2 separate regions of the Homo sapiens genome follow, and region 2 is linked to region 1. The links are contacts of gene promoters, found by promoter capture Hi-C in human tissues and cell types (Jung and others, 2019). All regions are on one chromosome and are shown on one strand. The core of a region is centred on a gene start or on the middle of the fragment in contact, and the rest is flanking DNA. Distances in the headings are between cores, read along the strand shown.

Region 1 (7,672 bases), core at 2,682-5,181:
ACAAAAGGAACAGTCAGCAGAGTAAACAGACACCCCACAGAGTGGGAGAAAATCTTCACAATCTATACATCTGACAAAGGACTAATATCTAGAATCTATAATGAACTCAATCAAATTAGCAAGGAAAAAACAAACAAACAATCCCATCAAAAAGTGGGCAAAGGACATGCATAGACAATTCTTGAAGAAAGATATATAAATGGCCAATAAACATATAAAAATACTCAACATCACTAATAATCAGGGAATGCAAATCAAAACCACAATGCAATACCACCTTTCTCCTGCAACGATGGCCATAATAAAAAATAATAGATGTTGGTATGAATGTTGTGAAAAGGGAACACTTCTACACTGCTGGTGGGAATGTAAACTAGTGCAACCATTATGGAAACCAGTGTGGAGATTCCTTAAAGAACTAAAAGTAGAACTACCATTTGATCCAGCAATCCCACTTTTGGTATCTACCCAGAAGAAAAGAAGTCATTATACAAAAAGATACTTGCACATGCATGTTTATAGCAGCACAATTTGCAATTGCAAAAATGTGGAACCAACAAAAATGTCCATCAATCAATGAGTGGATAAAGAAACTTGGTATGTATATATATGTGTGTGTGTGTGTGTGTGTGTGTGTGTGTGTGTGTGTGTGTATGATGGAATACTACTCAGCCATAAAAAGGAATGAATTAATGGCATCCTCAGCAACCTGGATGGGATTGAAGACTATTATTCTAAGTGAAGTGACTCAGGAATGGAAAACCAAACATCGTATGTTCTCATTCATAAGTGGGAGCTAAGTGATGAGGATGTAAAGGCATAAGAATTACAAAATGGATTTTGGGGACTCAGGTAAAAAGGGTGGGAAGGGAGTGAGGGAAAAAATACTACAAATTGGGTTCAGTGTATACTGCTTGGGTGATGGGTGCACCAAAATCTCAAAAATCACCACTAAAGAACTTACTCATGTAACCAAATACCAATCGGTTCCCCAAAAAACCTATGTAAATAAAATATATATTTTTTAAAAAAAGAAAAAGAGGGGTAGATCTTGATGACTTCGAATGTGGTAATGGATTGTTAGATATGACACAAAAGCATGAGCAACAACAAGGAAAAAGAGATAAATTAAGCCTTATGAAGATGCAAGCCTTTTGTGCATCAAAGGACATTATGAAGAAAGTGAAAAGACCAGGCACAGAATGGGAGAAAAAATTTGCAAATTACATATAGAAGAGCTTCCTGTCCAGAATATATAAAGAACTGCTACAACTCAATAACAAAAAGACAAACCACCCCGTTTATAAATGGGCAAAAACTCAAATAGACATTTCTTCAAAGAAGATATACAGGCCGGGTGCAGTGGCTCATGCCTGTAATCCCAGCACTTTGGGAGGCTGAGGCAGGTAGATCACAAGTTCAGGAGTTTGAGACCAGCCTGGCCAGCATGGTGAAACCCCACCTCTACTAAAAATACAAAAATTAGCCCGGCATGGTGGTGCACGCTTGTAGTCCCAGCTACTTGGGAGGCTGAGGCAGGAGAATCGCTTGAACTCAGGAAGTGGAGGTGATATATGAATGTACATATATACACTCTACCACAATTTTTTGAAAAGTCTTTGGTGAAGAAAACCTACTACGTAAAACATACCCACCCTAATCAGATAGCCCTCATACACTTACATGCAGTCCCTACATGACCTTATCCACAGAGAGATTCAAGGATTCAGAGACATGAAACTGCCCAGCCAACTGCAGATGCACAACATAAATGTATTTGCAAAGAGACTGAGAGTTAAGCTGGAGACACAGACCTCAGCACTGCCAGGACTCTCACCCTCCCCCATGGATTCTGACTTTATCTTACTTGGCGCATTATTCAGATCTTGTTGTGGAGTTGGGGCAGGGTAGGTCATAAAGCCTGACCCCAGGACACTCTGTGTGAGCACATGAGCCACACACACCCCATTAGATCTCCACACACAGCTGTGACCATTGTGAGGAGGACTAACACAGGCTCAGAGATCACACCAGAGAATCAGCCACAGAGAAAAACACGGATGTGGAATGTGATGGAGCTCGACATAACATGTGGGTGACCTCGTGTGAAATGTGCAGATCCATGTGGAATAAAACACGCAGCCGGACCTGGGACTGCGGCCACCCACACTTCCCTTCCAGTCCACCAGAGGGCGACAGAGTCCCTCCAGCCTGGAGCCTTCCCAGGGGCTGCTGACCTCCCTCAGCGGAACCCACAGCCCAGCAGGGTCCACCCTCACCAGGGCACCTCGGCCCACGTCCTCCTTACCCTCCAAGCTCCCCATACGGACTCTGTCAGCTCCTCCCTGCAGCCAGGCAGCCGGCAACATGAGGCCGCCCCCTCTGCAGGCAGCTCCTGCCCCACACACCCAATCCTTCCCTGGGCCTAGTTAAGGCATCTCCCAGGGCAGCGCTGGTGCACGGGATGCCACACTGGGCGCTTTCCCCTCGTGACCTCCCTCCATCCTCATCAACTCTTTCTGTGACTGCTCCCTAAATACCCGCCCCTGCTCCGTGTGTCCTGTTCTCTACGGCATGGCAGGCTGAGCCCAGCGCTGACAGAACCACAGCTGCCTGAGGGCCCACAGTGCCTCTGGGGAATCAGCCAGGCACCCTATGACCTTCCCTCTGCACCCCAGGAGGCTCGGAGAGTATGTGATGGTCACGCCCAGGCACTGTCTGGGATGTAGCCACCTGCCCCCTGCTGTCCTTCGTGAAGCCAGGAGGGAGGACAGCGCTCTCTCATGTACACAAGCTGGGGGGCAAGGAATGAGCTCCCTTTGTTCCCAGAACATGGCCCACCCCTACCTGCCCTCTCAGGTGTGAGCAACGTCCCCCCAGACGGGCTCCCCGGCCGCTGCCCATCCTTTCTCTACACAGAGGGGCCTGACCAGGTCCAAACCCTTAGGACAGACCCCAGGGGATATCAGCATGGGGAGGGCTGAGCCCATCCTGGCTGCAGAGTAAGTTGGGATGAGTCTCTCCAGCTCTGAGCCCCTGCTCTGTCCCAGGCTCCCTCTCCTGGATCTCAGAGAGCACTGTCTTGTGGGGCCCCTGGGCAACTCCCCACTTCCTGCTGCACCAACCATAGGGAAGGTGGGGTGACCACAGGACAGTCAGCCGGGCGAAAACAGAGGACACCCAAGATGGTCAGAGAGAACATGGAAGGCCCGAGCCCCAGCTCAGCTGCCAGAACCCAAAGAGCAAGAGAATGGCTGATACCTGTCCCTGATGACCACTAGGCCCACAGCCCCCACTGACCAACCAGAACAGCCCTCTCTCTCAGGAGGCATAAGAGATTATTTGCCCTGCACACCACCAGTAAGGACAGTCCCCTCTGGGATATCCAGGGCATTGAATGTCCATCCTTGGAAGCTGCAACCAAGCTTGACACAATGAGAGAGGGGGAGGATCCCTCTCACCAGTGAGCACACACCTCCCCAAAGCTCAGTGGTGGTGTCCCTGTGACAGGGTCCTTGCGGAGCGCTGACCTCCTGATCTGAAGGGAAGAGCCAGATGGGGATGGGAGAGGGCAGGGGGAGCGACTGTGCACCCCGACCTGGAGACATAGGCTGCAGGATGCTGAGGGCACAGGGCTGTGCTCACCCAGTCTCCAGGGTGTATGTGTGACTGTGTGTGTCTCTTTGTGTATGTGTGTGTCTCTGTGTGTGTGTGTCTGCATAGTGTGTGCAGAGGTTGGGTGAGAGAATCACTGCTGAAGGAGTCAGAGACCTCAGCAATTCCCAGGGGCCTGAAACACAGACAGAAAATAAAGGGAAAGGAGGGACAGGGAGGCAGGACTGAGAGGGGAGGGGACAGAGAGGTGTCCTGGGCACAGACCCCGCCCATGAGCCTGAGAAGTGCTCCTGCCCCGGGAAGAGGCTCAGCACAAAAGGAGGAAGGACAGCACAGCTGACAGCCGTGCTCAGAAAGTTTCTGGATCCCAGGCTCATCTCCACAGAGGAGAACACGCAGGCAGCAGAGACCATGGGGCCCATCTCAGCCCCTTCCTGCAGATGGCGCATCCCCTGGCAGGGGCTCCTGCTCACAGGTGAGGAGAGGACTTCCTGGGAAAGGACAGGAGGAGGAAACACAGTGACTGGCTGGGGTCTCCTGGGGAGGACGGGGCTCTGAGAGGGGACAGAGGACTTCTGTTGGAGCCTTAATAGAGGAGAGGACACAAGAGAGGGGAAGGGGTCACAACAGGAAAATCACATTGAACTGGAATTGGTAAGAGGCAGGAACATCTCAAGTGTTCCATATTCCTGGTTAATCATCACTGGCCACTACATTTTGAAAAATGATAATAATAACCATACCAGATGACACTTCAAATAAAGCATAACCAGGGTATGAAACATTGTCCTCAGCCAACAATGTCAGACATTGGCAAATAAGCCTCAGGAAGCAGAGGGCCCAGGGAATGCTCAGGAACTCATCCACAGGAGTCTGAAGCCTGTCCCAGGCACTGGGGTGCAGCCAACACCACACAAGTCCCTGCCCTCACAGAGCTCACACTCTCCTGGGGAGGAAGACAGACAAAGAGATCTAGAATGTGAGGTCAGGCGCTGACAGGAGCCCTGGAAGGAACACAGCAGGGAAAGGTCAGAAAGGGAAGACCCAGTGTCTCTAGAGGAGGTGTCAGAGAAAGGGTCTCCCAAGGATGCCCTGATGTGAGCAGGATCTGAGGGCAGTGTGGAGGGAGCCGTGCAGAACCCTGAAGAAGAGGATTCCACCAGGGAAATGCCAAGGTCAGAGGTGTTGAAGAAATGGGGGCTGTGCTGCTGACATTGACTCAGTAGGACACACACACATACACACACATAAAAACACACAAACTCCAAAGCTGATGTCCCCATTTTTCTACTCCAATACATATGTTGCAATATTGCTTGATGCTCTCTCCCCCTCCTAGCCTCACTTTTCACCTTCTGGAACCCGCCCACCACTGCTCAGCTCACTATTGAAGCTGTGCCATCCAATGCTGCAGAGGGGAAGGAGGTTCTTCTACTTGTCCACAATCTGCCCCAGGACCCTCGTGGCTACAACTGGTACAAAGGGGAAACAGTGGATGCCAACCGTCGAATTATAGGATATGTAATATCAAATCAACAGATTACCCCAGGGCCTGCATACAGCAATCGAGAGACAATATACCCCAATGCATCCCTGCTGATGCGGAACGTCACCAGAAATGACACAGGATCCTACACCCTACAAGTCATAAAGCTAAATCTTATGAGTGAAGAAGTAACTGGCCAGTTCAGCGTACATCGTGAGTGATTCCCCATGACCTCTGGGTGTTGGGGGTCAGTTCTACTTCCCACACACAGGATTGTTAGGCCTGGGCTGTGCCCATGTCCCTCTCTGCATTACATCCCACTTTAGGGTTTGGACATTTAGTGCAGGACACACTCAGGGGAGACAGACTTCCACAGACCAGAATTCCTTTCCTGCATCCAGACCCTGCAGACACTCACGGCAGAGGAATGACAGTCTGATGGGGGGACTCAGCAGAAGGAGATCAGACTCAGCCAGGCACCCCGTGCCCTCCCCATGGACCTGACCCTGAGAAAAACTCTAAAGAACTGGGTCAGGGCCTGACCTGAGGGGCTCCCTGGGATCCTGGGATCCTCACAGAGAAGTTCATCCCTGGAAGCCCCTGCTCCAGACCCCTGTCCCAGGATCCTGACTCCAGGTAACCCTGGGAAACCTGTGCCAGCACTGGGTTGTAGCCTCCTGGGCAGGGCCAACTAGGAGCAAAGATTTACCAGCCATCCAAGGGCTGTGGCTCCTGGAGCTGCTCACCAGCCAGGGCTTAGACCCCAGAGCCTCATCTGGGCAAGGACAGAGTCTTGTCCTTCACCTGAGACTCAGAGTGGAGAGGACAGATGGACAAGCTTCTTAGGCCATCAGCCAACTGGCCTGGGAGGCTTAGGAGACTCCATAGAAAGTTCAGTGTCCCCAGGGACAGAAATAGAAGAAAGATGTTCCTAACAGCAACTTGTCCAGCAGGGATCATGCCAAGGGGACCCTCTCATGGAGGCAAATAATAACCCGTGCTGTTTGTGTGAGCGCCTCCTCTGTGCAAGCTTCAGGTCAGGTGACTATGGATAATTTAATGCTAATTCATAGAAAACCTGGCAGAAAATATCATTTTCCTATTGAGAAAGAAATAATAATTCTTTTTATTTCTTTTTTTTTTTTTTTTTTTTTTTGAGACGGAGTCTCTGTGGCCAGGCTGGAGTGCAGTGGTGCGATCTCAGCTCACTGCAACCTCTGCCTCCCGGGTTCAAGCGATTCTCCTGCCTCAGCCTCCCGAGTAGCTGGGACTACAGGTGCATGCCACCACCCCTAGCTAATTTTGGTATTTTTATTAGAGACAGAGTTTTACCATGTTGGCCAGGATGGTCTCGATTTCTTGACCTCATGATCCGCCTGCCTCGGCCTCCCAAAATGCTGGGATTACAGGCATGAGCCACTGCGCTCAGCCTATTATTTCTTTTAATAGAAGCTTATTATTGAGAAGAAACGGAGGCACAGGAAGACACAGTCACTGAACCAGGGTCACACAAACACGAGGGATAGATCAGGGTCACATGAGGTCTCTCTCCAGCCACAGCCCCGTCCTCTCTTCCACAAGAAGGCAGGGCTTATTGCGTTCCACGGACCCCATGGTCATCCATTGGCTCAAATCCTTTCTTCCTGAGCATCCAAAGCTCAGAGAAGTGAGAGCAAATAAGCAACTGATTCATTCGTACTCCAGAACTAAATCACCTGCCCCAACTGTCAGAGCCAGTGCGAGGAATGTCCAGGCTCCCTCTAAGATCCTAACCCCCCTCACTGAACCTGAAATCCTGTTTCCTGATGTGTTGCTGTCACTCCCATGGGAGGACAAAAGAGAGGACTTTGCTTTCTCTCCCCACTCACACCCTGCACCAGGACAGGCCCAACATGTGACACACACTCGATCGTTCTCTCATGGAGAGGGAATGAATGAGAGAATGAATGATGCAAAACCTCTTTAGAGACTAGATCCTGGATGGCCAGGCAGGTGCTGTCTGATGGGCTTACTGCCTGTTCCACACACATCTGTGTCCTCATGATGGCACCATTGTGATAAGATGGGGTCCTTCAGGTGGGGAGACGCATGAGCCACTGGCGTCTCACTTAGACTCTGTCCAATTCGCAAAAACCTAATCCAATTCTACTTGTGTCTCCCGAGGTCAAGAGAAAATGAAGAAAGCATTGCGCATACCTGTTTTGGGCTCCTCCCAATTTTGCCTAACTCTGCATAGGAATTAGGGGCAGGAAGCTTTCTAAATTTACTAACATAACACACATCGCTTCTCCTAATTTGGCATTGTTCCTCCCTTTATGGAATTGACACACCTAAGACTTCCTCTCTGACCGGTTCTGTCCTCTTAACAGGACTCACGTGCCTCCCTCTACCTGGGAGTTGCTAATTTCAAGCGAACTTCAGGATCTTCCTTTGAGCATAATGTGATCCTGCTGGAATTCACAGGACGCCTAAACCTTATTTTGTTATCAAGAGAAATACTCCTTCCACCAATTGATTTTAGATCTGTGGACAATTAATAGCAATTTCTACTTATGGAAAAAAATTCATGTT
Region 2 (7,672 bases), core at 2,797-5,296, 38 kb before region 1:
TAGGAGAAAAGTTTTGCAATCTATCCATCTGACAAAGGGCTAATATCCAGAATCTACACAGAACTTAAACAAATTACAAGAAAAAAATCAAACAACCCCATCAAAAAGTGGGCAAAGGATACGAACAGACACTTCTAAAAAGAAGACATTTATGCAGCCAGCAAACATATGAAAAAAATCCCATCATCACTGGTCATTAAAGGAATGTAAATCAAAACCACAATGAGATACCATTTCACACCAGTTAGAATGGTAATCATTAAAAAGTCAGGAAACAAGAGATGCTGGAGAGGATGTGGAGAAATAGGAATGCTTTTACACTGTTGGTGGGAGTGTAAATTAGCTCAACCATTGTGGAAGATGGTGTGGCGATTCCTCAAGGATCTAGAACCAGAAATACCATTTGACCCAGCAGTCCCATTACTGGGTATATACCCAAAGGATTATAAATCATTCTACTATAAAGACACATGCACACATATGTTTATTGCTGCACTACTCTCAATAGCAAAGACTTGAAACCAACCCAAATGCCCAAATGCCCATCAATGATAGACTGGATAAAGAAAATGTGGCACATATACACCATGAAATACTACGCATCCATAAAAAAAGATGAGTTCATGTCCTTTGAAGAGACATGGATGAAGCTGGAAACCATCATTCTCAGCAAACTAACACAGGAACAGAAAACGAATCACCGCATGTTCTCACTCATAAGTGGGAGTTGAACAATGAGAACACATGGACACAGGGAGGTGAATATCATGCAATGAAAAAGTAAAACTGCATGCCCTACTTGGGAACAGAGAGGGAAAATCCACAAATGAAATATGACCCCAAAAAAGTCAGGATTTACCACATTGAGTTTGTTCCCCAAAAATGAAAGGTGAGTTTAACACCCAAAAGTCAACAATTGCCTTTACTTCAAAAGATTAACTAGAAAAAAAATTATTAGCAGAACAGAAGCAAAATGACCTTGCATGAAATTCCACATCATTCCATCCTGATGCAGACAGTGCAGACATGAGTGGCAAATGATGAAAAGAGGTCCCTTTTTTCAGGCCCTGAGAGGAGCCTGCACCTGGTGGCTGCCACATTCCTTCTGATTCTTCCAGGCAACGGCCCTCCTTGAAATCCCTGGGAGGACTCGTGCTCCACTGGGAAAGGCCCCATGTGGAAAGCTCCACAGCAGCTCTGTCAAAGCCCTCAGGCACAGATCCTGAGTGACAGGACCTTTAGGGACACAGACAAATGGACATGTCCCCAGTGCCCACACTAGGCAGGGGCATCTGGACCAAGTGTGAAGCTCCCTCACCTGGACCCAGCCTCTCCCCAGTGACTTGGGCCTTGGGGTGGCTTCAGGTCTCCAGTCCATGCCACCAAAATCTCCAGAGTGACAGTCCTCCCTGGGGTCCATGATGCCTGTCCAGGTGCTGCTGCCTGAGTAAAGCTAAAGAATGCGGAGGGCTGGAGTTGTGACAGTAAAAGCAGCCATATTTGTCTCAAAATTGAAAGGGAGGGCATGAGCTCCAGGAATGGTGAGGGTGCCCTCTAGTGGTTCCCTCCTGCTAAGGAGCAAAAAGGGGCCAAGAGAGTTGAGAGATCAGGGCTGGCCTTGGACTAAGTGTGAGTTCAGATGGAGGGAACTAAGGTGCAAGGAGGGAGCTGAGATGGGAAAGCAGTCCAGAAAGATGAAAGGATCAGGTCTGGGGAAGACCCAGGGAAGCTAAAGAAGGGCACAGCAGGGTTCTGCACTCCTCAGCATTGACACAGGGGTGGTCATGCTAATGGGGCTCTGTGAGCAGCAGGGTGTTCAGCACCCTCTGGGAACTCTACCCACTCAATGCCACAGGACTCCCTCCCCCAGTTCTGTCAACCAACAATTTCTCCAGACTTTGCCAAATGCCCACTCAGAGGGCAAAAGTGGCCCTGACAGAATCAGATCTACACTAACCTCTCAAAGCAACTCACCAGTAAAATCCTTCATCTCTTGGTGAAAGAATTGTGAGTATGTGAGGGGTACAACTGACATCTTCAGTATCTGTTGAAATGACTTTTACTTAATCAGCAATTTGATGTCACGGGAGAAAGCATGTTTAGAGCTGATGCCACATTGCTGCCTGTACCTCGCAGCAGAGAGGGTACGGGTTTTCCAATGGTCTGTAACCACAAACCAGAATGACACCCACTGAGTTACATTACAAAACGGAATATGGAGAATTCTGTAGATATGGGGTGGGAGAAATAAAGCATGAAACCACACCACAAGACACCAAACAGTCCACTCTGATGTTCTCACCATTTTAGGCCATATTAGCTATCTATGAATGAAAAGTCAATTATCTTATTAAGAAAAAATACCTTATGCAGAATAAACTTATAGCATAGGAATTTCTGTACATTTTCAAAATTGTCTACTGTTGGATCATTCCTTAAATATGAATCCATCCCAAAATTCCACCCCATCTGCCCTCTCAGGTGTGAGCAGTGACCCCCACATGGGGTCTGCTGCCACTGCCTGTTCTTCCTCTACACTGAGGGCCTTGACAAGGTCAAAACCCTCAGGACAGACCCCAGGGAATGTCAGCACAGGGAGGGCTGAGCCCATCCTGGCCACAGAGTAAGTCAGATTGAATGTCTTCAGCTCTGAGCCCCTGCTCTGTCCCAGGTTCTCTGTCCTGGGTCTCAGAGAGCCATGTCCTGTGAAGTCCCTGGGCAGCCCCCTACTCCCTGCTGCATCAGCCTTGGGGAAGGTGGAGTGACCACAGGACAGTCAGCTGGGCAGATGACGGGACACCAAAGATAGTCAGAGAAAACATGAATGGGCCTCAGCCCCAGCTCAGCAACCAGAACCCAGGGTGCAAGAGAGTGGCTGAGACCAGTTCCTGGGACCACAGCCCCCACTGACCAACCAGCAGAGGCCTCTCTTCCCAGAAGGCATGAGAGATTCATCCTGCACACCTCCAGGAAGGACAGTCTCTTCTGGGACACCCGGGTCATTGAATGTCCATCCTTGGAAACTGTAGCCAATATTGACACAATGAGAAAAAGGGTCCCTCTCACCAGCCAGCACTCAGCTCACCCAAAGCACAGTGAGGGTAGATCCCTGTGACAGGGCCCTGGTGCAGTCCAAGCCTCCTGCTCTGAACGGAAGAGCCAGGTGGGGATGGAAGAGGGCAGAAGGGGTAACTGTGCAGGCTGACCTGGAGCCATAAACATGGCTGGATGCTGAGGACCCAGAACTGGGCTCACCCAAACTACAGGGTTTCTGTGTGACTATGTGTATCTGTGTGTCTCTTTGTGTGTGTGTCTGTGTGTCTGCACATAGCATGTGTAGAGGTTGGGTGAGAGAATCACTGCTGAAGGAGGCAGAGGCCTCAGCAATTCCCAGGGGCCTGAAACACAGACAGAAGAGAAAGGTAGAAAAGAGACAGGGAGGCAGGACTGAGAGGGGAGGGGACAGAGAGGTGTCCTGGGCACAGACCCCAACCATGAGCCTGAGAGGCGCTCCTGCCCTGGGAAGAGGCTCAGCGCAGAAGGAGGAAGCACAGCACAGCTGACAACCATGCTCAGAAAGTTTCCGGATCCCAGGCTCACCTCCACAGAAGAGAACACACAGGCAGCACAAGCCATGAGGCCCCTCTCAGCCCCTCCCTGCACACAGCGCATCCCCTGACAGGGGCTCCTGCTCACAGGTGAAGAGAGAACTTTCTGGGAGTGAACACAAGGAGGAAGCAGAGTGACTGGCTGGGGTCTCCTGGGGAGGACAGAGCTCTGAGCGGGGACTGAGGGCTTCTGTTGGAGCCTGGATACGGGAGAGGACACCAGAGAGGAACAGGGGTCACAACAGGAAAATCATATAAAACTGGAACTGGTAAGAGGTAGGAAAATCTTAAGTATTCTGTTTTCCTGGTTAATCATCACTGGCCACTAAATTTTGAAAAATGATAATAATAACTATATCAGATGACACTTCAAATAAAAACATAACCAGGGCATGAAACATTATCCTCAGCCTCCAACCTCAGAAATTGGTCCAGGACATGGAAGACCTTGGGAACGCTCATGAGCTCATCCACAGGAGTCTGCAGCCTGTCCCAGGAACTGAGGTGCAACCAAGATCACACAAGACCCTGCTCTCACAGAGCTCATGCTTTCATGGGAAGGAAGACAGACATGCAAAGAGATCTAGAATGTGAGGTCAGGTGTTGACAGGAGTTGTGGAGTAAACAGAACAGGGAAAGGTCAGCAAGGGAAGACCCAGGGTCTCTAGAGGAGGTGTCAGGGGAAGAGTCTCCCAAGGATGCCTGATGTGAGCAGGACCTGAGGGCAGTGGGGAGGGGGCCGAGCAGACCCCTGGGGAAGAGGATTCCAAACAGGAAAATGCCAAGGTCAGAGATGTTGAAGGAATGGGGATCATGCTGCTAACCTTGACTCAGTAGGACACACACACACATACATACTCAAAGGCTGAGGGGTGAAGAGACCTTCTCAGGACACAGGGCCCCATCTTTCCCCCCCAATACATAGGTCCCAATGTTGACTGATGCTCTCTCTCTCTCTCCTAGCCTCACTTTTCACCTTCTGGAACCCACCCACCACTGCCCAAGTTACAGTTGAAGTTCTGCCATCTAATGCGGTAGAGGAGAAGGAGGTTGTTCTACTTGTCTACAATCTGCCCCAGGATATACTTGGCCACAACTGGTACAAAGGGGAAACAATAGATGCCGACGACTGAATTGCAAGATATGTAATACACAATGAAGTAACTATCCCAGGGCCTGCATACAGTGGCCAAGAGACAGTATACCCCAAAGCACGCCTGGAGATCTGGAACATCGCCCTGAATGACTCAGGATCCTACACCGTGCAAATTTTAAAGGCAGATCTTATGACTGAAAAAGTAACTGCACAGATCAGCGTACACCGTGAGTGATTCCTCATGACTTCTGGGTGTCGGGGGTCAGTTCTACTTCAAACACACAGGACTGTTAGACCTGGACTGTGCCTGTGTAGCCCTCTGCATTATGTCCCATTTTAGGGTTTGAGCATTTAGTGCAGGACACACACAGGGGAGACAAACATCTGCAGATCAAAATTGTTTCCCCAAATCCAGACCCTGCAGACATTCACTGCAGAGGAAGGACAGTCTGATGGGAGGGACACAGCAGGTGGAGAACAGTCTCAGCCAAGCACTCCGTGCCTTCCCCATGGACATGACCCTGAGAAATTCCTTGGAGAACTGGGTCAGGGCCTGGCCTGGGGGGCCCTCGGGGATTCTCTTAGAGAAGTTCAACCCTGGAAGCCTCAGCCCCAGAACCCGGTCCCAGAATCCTGACTTCATGTGACCCTCGGGAATGTGTGCCAGGGTTAGGTTGTGGCCTCCTGGGCAGGGCTGACTGGGAGCAAAGGTTTACCAGCTGTACAAGGGCCATGGTTCCTGGAGCTGTTTAACAGCCAGGGCTCAGCACCCAGAGCCTCATCTGGGCATGGACAGAGCCTAGTCCTTCACCTGAGACTCAGAGTGCAGAGGACAGATGGACAAGCTTCTTAGGCCATCAGCCAACTGCCCTGGGAGACTTAAGAGACTCCGTAGATAATTCAATGTCTTCAGGGGCAGAAACAGAAGAGAGAAGATGTTCCTGGTAGCATCTTGTTCATCATGGATCAGGCCTAGATATGCTCTTTCATGCAGGCAAATAATAATAAACATTGTTTGTGTGAACACGTCCTCTGTGCCAAGCATTAGGTCAGGTGACTGTGAATAATTTAAACTTCATTCACAGACAACATGACAAGCCACAGACCATTTGCCATTTAGCTTATCTGACTGGGAGAAAACTGAGACACAGGGAGGCATAGTCACTGAACCAGGGTCACACAAACACAAGTGGCAGATCAGAGTCACTAGAGGTCTGGCTGCAGCCACAGCCCCATCCTCTCCTCCACCAGAAGTGGGGATTTGGGGGTCCTGGGGACCCCACAGTCATCCATTGGCTCAAATCCTTTCTTCATGCTTATCTAGACCTCAGAGGAGTGAGAGCAAATGGACAACTGATAAGTTTTTACTCCAGAACTAAATTGCCTGCCTCAATGATCAAAGTCAGTGCAAGGAATATCCAGTCCTCCCCCTCAGATCCTAATGCCCCTCACTGGACCTGAAATCTTGTATCCCAATGTGTTGGTGTCACTCCCATGGGAGGATAAAAGAGAGGTCATAGCTTTCTCTCCCCACTGGCACCCTGCAGCAGCACAGGCCCAATGTAACATACACACTCAGAAGCTTTCTCGTGAAGGAGGGAGGGAATGAATGAAGGAATGAATAATCTATAACCTCTTTAGATACCTGATTCTGGATACAGAATCCTAGGAGTTTCTGTCCACACTGGTTTTCTGTCCTTCAGGGCCTGAGACCCATGTTCTATCCCTATGAACCCCTACTCCTAAAGCCACCCCATCTCATGTGACACTGAGGCTCCCTGGGCATAGAAGGGTTTCCAGGGCTCCCTGGTCCTGGACTAAGGAAGTGGGGGCCCCTGGACCTTGAGGTCTTTTAGGTCACTGTAGCCCCCACTGCTCACTGCCATGGGTGTCTCTGCTCCTCCATGTCCCTCATTTTCCTCCCCCTTCATTCCAGCTACGATACTGCACCCTGCACAGCTTCCCCCACACGTAGGCCTTCCCCAGACACTCCCTCTAACAAGGCTGACTGTTCTGTTCCCTTCCTATTCACACTGTAGCCTGGCCCACCTCCTGGACAATAGGAAAGGCACAGAAATCAGCCAGAGCAGTCACCCCTGCCAGGCTCCATCATGAGCCAATATCCCCAGATCACCAGGAGAACAAGCTTCCACTGTGTCCCCATCCAGGGTTCTCTTCCTCCGTGAGCCAAAACATGAAACAAGCCACTGGAAAGAAATGAGCAACTCCTCAGTCCACTCTTATAATCACCTGATGGGTTCCTCTTGCACCCTGCACAGACAAAACCAATTTACTGAGATGGTGACTTGCAGTTACAAAAGATTTTAGTTAGGCAAAGACTGTCAAACAGGAGGACAGAAGTTTATTATTGTACAAATTAGCCTCTCTAGTGGCTCAGAAATTAGAGGTTTTCAAGGATAGTTTCAGCTGCAGAGGTCTAAGGAATGAGTACTGCTGACTGGTTGGGGATGAAATCATGCAGGTGGGGAAAATGATCTGTTTGTGTTAAATCTGCCTCTGGATGGAAGCCACATGAATGGATGAATCATTAATCATGGGTCTGGATGAGTTATGCTGGTTGCCAAAATGCAAAAGTCTGAGGAACATCTTAAAAGACCAATCTCAGGTTCTACAATAGTGATGTTATCTATAGAAGCAATTAAGGAAGTCATAAATCTTGTGACCTCTGTACACATGAGTCCTGAGCAGTAAGGAATTGCAGAAACTATGCCTACATTTTAGCAAAATTTGGGACCCTCCAATAATCTTAATCTCATGGTCTTTCATTAGTTTTACAAAGGCAGTCCCTGAGCAAGGAGGGGGTAAATTTTAAGGGGGACTATTATCATCATTGCTTCAAAGTTAAACTACAAATTCTTCCCATGGTTAGCCTGGCCTATGCCTGGGAATTAATGAGGATGGCCAGCCTGAAGCTAGAGGCTAGATGGAGTCAGCCATGCTAGCTTGC

Evidence for each region. The method cuts DNA at HindIII sites, captures the fragments that hold promoters and counts their contacts. A contact is called where the count stands out against the background at its distance.
Region 2: a fragment that was not itself captured here is called in contact with the fragment with the promoter of CEACAM8 in region 1 in 2 of the 25 tissues and cell types used here (heart left ventricle and stomach).

Annotation. Positions count from the first base shown.
Region 1 is chr19:42,591,183-42,598,854 of GRCh38, reverse strand. CEACAM8 (CEA cell adhesion molecule 8) reads left to right here and starts at 3,931. Exons shown (of 6, transcript NM_001816.4): 1 at 3,931-4,090; 2 at 4,955-5,314. The coding sequence starts at 4,027. All of the region lies in intron 2 of LIPE-AS1 (LIPE antisense RNA 1), which reads right to left. RefSeq lists an enhancer at 2,098-2,598. The HindIII fragment of the contact is 5,245 bases long and covers 1,098-6,342 here.
Region 2 is chr19:42,628,997-42,636,668 of GRCh38, reverse strand. The region is part of intron 2 of LIPE-AS1 (LIPE antisense RNA 1); the gene reads right to left. It also overlaps the pseudogene CEACAMP1. Among named protein-coding and RNA genes, the nearest start is that of CEACAM8, 38 kb to the right of the region's middle. RefSeq lists an enhancer at 7,434-7,672. The HindIII fragment of the contact is 7,533 bases long and covers 280-7,672 here.